Linked DNA regions of Homo sapiens: region 2 is linked to region 1. Evidence: promoter capture Hi-C in human tissues and cell types (Jung and others, 2019). All regions are on one chromosome and are shown on one strand. Each heading gives the region's core, a stretch centred on a gene start or on the middle of the fragment in contact. The rest is flanking DNA. Distances are from core to core; before and after follow the strand shown.

Evidence for each region. Contacts are between HindIII fragments. The study calls those that stand out against the background at their distance.
Region 2: a fragment that was not itself captured here is called in contact with the fragment with the promoter of IL11RA in region 1 in 2 of the 25 tissues and cell types used here (bladder and dorsolateral prefrontal cortex).

Annotation. Positions count from the first base shown.
Region 1 is chr9:34,650,822-34,653,521 of GRCh38, reverse strand. It overlaps IL11RA (interleukin 11 receptor subunit alpha), which reads right to left and starts at 1,337. Exons shown (of 13, transcript NM_001142784.3): 1 at 1,289-1,337. It overlaps GALT (galactose-1-phosphate uridylyltransferase), which reads right to left. Exons shown (of 11, transcript NM_000155.4): 11 at 2,487-2,700. RefSeq lists a silencer at 1,282-1,381. The HindIII fragment of the contact is 13,062 bases long and covers 1-2,700 here.
Region 2 is chr9:34,498,212-34,500,911 of GRCh38, reverse strand. It overlaps DNAI1 (dynein axonemal intermediate chain 1), which reads right to left. Exons shown (of 20, transcript NM_012144.4): 11 at 73-190. Among named protein-coding and RNA genes, the nearest start is that of ENHO, 23 kb to the left of the region's middle. The HindIII fragment of the contact is 6,320 bases long and covers 1-2,700 here.

The sequences.
Region 1 (2,700 bases), core at 88-2,587:
TTTCCTTAGGGTACAGCTGGCTGTGCTTCCAGGGGAAGGGAGGCCCCAGGTTGGGGGATATAAGGAGAGGCCAAAGAGTCCAGTTCCCCCTCCCCTGGAAGTTCCAGCCATTTCTCACCTCCCCCTCCATTCTTTGGGCCCCAGCACCAGGAAATGCCTTTGGTCCCTTGGTGCCAGATACACAAGACCCACAGTTACCCTCAGACTCATACACTCTCACATGCGGTCACTCACAGTCACACGGGCACAGCCACACCGCCTCAGACTCAGACACACTTACACATATTCATACACTCACGCAGTCACACACGCACACAGCCCCTACCAGGGCTCACAGCACCGCCTAAAAGCAACTCTTCATCATGGTCTAAGCCCCCTCTCTCAGGGAGCTCTTAGCCGGGGCAGACCCGCATCTCATCACTGTTACAGGCCCCCAACTAGCCAGAGATCAAGATCAGCAGGGAAGGCAGGCATAGGGGCACAGAGAGAGACAGAGAGAAAGGAAAGGCAAAACTGGAAATGCACCCACACAGAGAGACCAGGGGAACAAAGCTGTGAAGAAACACACAGAGGTATCTCTAGTAAGACAGCAATAGGGACAGAAAACGGCACGTAAGGGAAACTGAGCCAAGCAGGGAAACAGAAAATAAGGAGCAGTAGACCTGATGCTGGGGATTCTTGAGCAGAGGAAGGAGGGGAAGCCACGTGTGTTGTGGGTGTGTCTGTCAATGCTGGACACTTAAGAGAAAGGTCAGTCCCATGGGCTCTTGAGGTAGGTCCCCCAATACATGAATACAGCTGTACTCCCACACGGTTTAAGTTAGGACCCAGGACACACACATAGTCACAAACCTCACTTTTGCTCTGCTACTGCTGAAGTCACACATTGGCACACACAAAGCCAGCCACCCACTCTCACGCTGGCAGACATGGTCTCAAACCCCACAGAGACCTTCCCAAAACACATTCCCTCATGTGGTCACAGTCCCTCTCACACAAACACACAACCCAGTCCCACCAAAAATGTGCATTGACAGATACACACATAATCCCACACTTGCACAGCCACATGCACCTCCAGCTCCATGCACACTGACACACGCAGTCACATTAGCTGACAGCTGCACCAAGTGACACTCAGAATCGCACACAATGATACTGTCACACAGACACAGCCTCACAGGCACATACACACTGACAGTCGTTAGTCACTCCCGGCCTTTCAGATCATACATCACCCTGCCCCGCCCACTCCTGACAAGACTTTGGCGTCTACACCAGGCCTCACCTTCCGCGGCCGCTGCCGCCAGCGCCCTCTGCCCTCGCCCTCGCCCTCTGCCCCGGCCTCTACTCCCTCCCGCCCTGGGCCCCCGCAGCGGGGGTGGCTCCGCCCAGGCGCCAATGGAAGGAGAGGAGTGAAATAGGGGGGCTCCTGGCCCATTGGAGACTCCAACTGCCAATCACCTCCACCCCCACCTCCGCCGGACACTTCCTGTCCCGTCCCGGACTGAAGAGGCTGCTTGGGACAGAGTCTGGAGCTGGATTCCTGGGTCTCCGCCTGAAGGCCTATCCACCCTGGAACAGCAGGACTGGAAACAAGAGCCACTGGCCAGGTGATTGGAGAAGCTGAAGGTGCCCCTGACTCCAGATAAGATAAAGAAGAAGGAGGGCTGTGTAGGGCAGTGGTTCTCAAACTTTGCTGGATATTGTGGTTTGAAAACTGCAAAACCCCACCCCATACCAATTAAATCAGAGTCTCTGGAGGTTGGACCTAGGCACCAGTATTGTTTAAAACTTCCCAGATGATTCCAAAATGCAGCCAAATCAGAGGTGTAAGGTGTGTCGGGTATATGTATGCCTCAAGAAACCAGCCACCCACTCAGGGTTCTCATCTACTCCCCAGTCATGGGAAGCTCGAGGGAAATGTGTGCATACTATGTCTATCAGATCTTCCAGACCAGGGCAACACTCCCAAGTTCCAGGTACTTCCCCTCCAGGATCTCAGGGAAGAAAAACCCTGGTCTGGAAGGCAGGCAGCCAAGTTTCTCCTGGGCCAGATTCAGTCACTGTCCAGCCTTAGTGTGATTTCCCCACCCACAGGCTTGGTTCCCCTGGGGAAAGAACGAAGGCAAAAACCATTCTGGCCATCCCTGCATCATTCACAATGCCTGCCTTCGCCTTAAAATTTGGAGGACACCAGTGGCATCAGGTCTCCTGTGTTGCATAGACTGTTGTTCCCACAGCGTTGCCAGGGAAACAGGTCCAGAGGGGACTGAATAGACCCCAGGTCACTCTGAGAGCCATACCTTCCTTCCAGGCCCTAGGGTTCCTAACTCTAGCAGTCCCTTCTCTGTCAGAGCTGTTTCTGTTTGTGCAATGATTGGGGCACAAGGGCAGCAGAAGTATATGGTGCCCGCACATGTGAGAGTCTGGAGGAGCCAAGGACACAAAGCCACGTACACGCTCCCTACACACTCCCTACCCGCCCCTTTAGCCCCTGTGGGCTGGAGCAGAGCCAAGCTGCAGCCACTCACAAAGCCAGGGTTCTGGCCAGCAGCCCAGGATCTGGCCACTGACCACTGGGATCAGGATCCAGCTCACCCGCTCCCCATCAAACCCTCAGGCCCAGGCTTGGAGCTGACACCCTAGGGGTGGTGGCAAAGGGGGCTCTGGCCTTCCCAAAGCCTCAGCCACAACCAA
Region 2 (2,700 bases), core at 1-2,500, 150 kb after region 1:
AAGGGGGTACTGGGGGTTTGGGATGTAGAGGGCACTCAGGGGCTCTGCATTTGCTGCAATGCCTATACTTACCAGCAGAGGGCAGTGACGGACAGGCGCTTGGCTTTGTCATTTTGGAACTTCCAGAGCGGCAGCAGGGTACCCACCTGGTCCCGGTATTCATCAGCAGCATCGTCATAGTACTTAAAATCTTAAACACACACAGGCAGAGTCAGCCCTGGGACTGCCGCTTTATGGCAAACCCAGGTCCACCACTTACTGTCTGTACCTCCTTGGGCAAAACAATGAGCCTCTGTTTTAGAGTGGGAATAATACTACTACCTATCTCAGAGTTCTGTTGTGAGGATATATGAATTGAGTTAATATATGCAAAGAGCTTAGAAAAATGCCTGGCACATAGTAAGCTCTATGTGTTAGCCATTGTTACTGTCGTTGTTGTTGGAGGTACATTACAATACACCGGCCATGTCTACATGGATAAAATCCCAGGTTCGCAGCCCTTGTTCCCATGTGTTTCCCTAGCATTTCAGGAGGCTCTGTTTGGAGGAGCCAAATTTCAAGGGTTCAGCTGCCAAGGGCTGATTAATAGTTCCATTAATTCTGCCTCCTAAATCCCTAAAATGCAGCCCATTTTCATATCCACAGCCAAGTCTCCCTATAATGAAGCTGCCTAGATCCCCCATGGGTTCTCTGAACCCAACTTCATCTCCTGCCCACAAAATTGTCTCTGCCTTCCACTTTCTTTAAGTTAGATAGATGCCCCATCCTCCCACTTGTCTAAACCAGAAATGAGTAATCCTTGACTGATCTGTTTCCATAATTTCTCATATTTTTCTTCTATCTTTTTAATTCATTCGCTTCTCTCCAAACCCATAGCCCCTGCCCAGGTTCAGGCCCCAACATCCATCACCTGTATTATGACAACATCCCTCTAACTGGTCTCCTACCTCCAGTAACTCCTTCTCCAACCCTTGTTTCACAGAACAACCAGTGTGAGTACAAACAAGGCACCTCACGACACCCCTTTCCTCACTCCACTGAAACCCCCTCAATGGCTCTCCTTGCAGAGGAGATTAAACCAAGAGGAGATCCACGTTATTTCTAGTCAGCTGTCCGTGTCCCCTCCATATCAAATCATGCCAATGAGTCCAGTTGTCTCCTGTTTTGGGTGTTTCTACATCGTTTTCCATGTCTAAGATGCCCTGTTCTTCCTGGCAAACTCCTACTCACTCCAGATCCAGATCAAACTCTTTCTCATCTGTAAGGCCTTCATTTTCTTTTGAGCAGAGTTAATTTCTTCCTCTGTTCCAGCCCTGCCTCTCCTCTACTGAAACATCTGTCACACTAGATTGCCTCTATCCTTTTGCCTGTTCTCCCCCACCAGACAATATCTGGAGAGCAGGACACACATATATTCTCTGGGTCCCCAGTGCCTAGCACAGGGCCAGCCACAAAACAGACAACCAACAACTGTTTAAAGAATGCAGTGAAATTCATTAACAGAAGTGAAGTAGTTCTTGATCTTCTTTAGACAAAGGGTGACCAATTAGAAAATGAATCCTGTCATTCAGTGAAGCCAAGAACATGCCCAGGCCTGACATCTCCTATAGTGCCCATACCTTGAGGTTGTGGGACTTCACTCAAACCTCAAAAATGTCTCAGAACAAAAAAGATTCAAGTGGTCAGAGAGGCGTGAGCCTTGATTACATCAGAGATTACCCCGCTTGGGTTATCTTTGAAAATACTTCAATTCAGAGCAGAGATTAATTGGTAACACTTCTCTATTTTCATGTCTCCTTCATGATTACACTTTCCCAAAGGGAAAGGAGTATGCAATTAAAAAAATCAAAGTTCAATACATTTTTATGTGACTGTGTTCTTATAAATGAAAGTGGTTCACCAAGGCCAATTTCTCCATGGATATTAATCAGGTTTGCAGCCCTTTGGTGGGCCACTTGCAGAGGCTGGGTTTCAAGAAGCCACGCTGTGTGAGTGACAAACTCATTCACAGCTGTTGTGTACTTTGACAGCTTTGAAAAGCACTCAAGGTCGTTTTCCAGCCTGAATGATAATGAGGGGGCTTGTTTAGGTGGCTGGTTTTGGCAGCCCTGGTTTCTGTGTCCCATGGGTGAGCAATGAGCATCAAGTCACCAAGAAGAGCCCTAGGCTGTCAGCAAAGGAGACCAGCCAGCATCGAGGAGCTGCCAACTCTGGGAAGGCAGCTGCTCCAAATAAATGCACAACCTCTTAGGGAAATACAAGCCACTTGGGAATGTGCTGTTCATGCCATGGGAAGGATTCTGTTTCCCTGACACTGTCAGACACCAGAATTTCCCAGGCCCCCAGGATTTAAGCATTTCTGAATCAATCTCTTTCTTCAACTCATCACTAATTAATCACCAGGATAGATCTATTGAGTGTGTTTATTTGAAATGTCTCTTCCGGCTCAGTGGCTTTGCAGCCTAGCGGCGAAGTGCTTAGGTGATGGATCCAAGGGGCCTGTGTTCGAGTTCTGATTCTGCCACTCACACTTCACACTAGCTGTGACTTTGAAAAAGTGGCAACATCCCAGCCTGAGTTTCTCATCTATAAAATGGAGATAATAATGGTATTCACCTCACAGTGTGGCTGTCAGGAACAAACAAAATAATAACATGTAAATTGCATAGCACAATGCCTGACACACAGGCTACTCCCAGT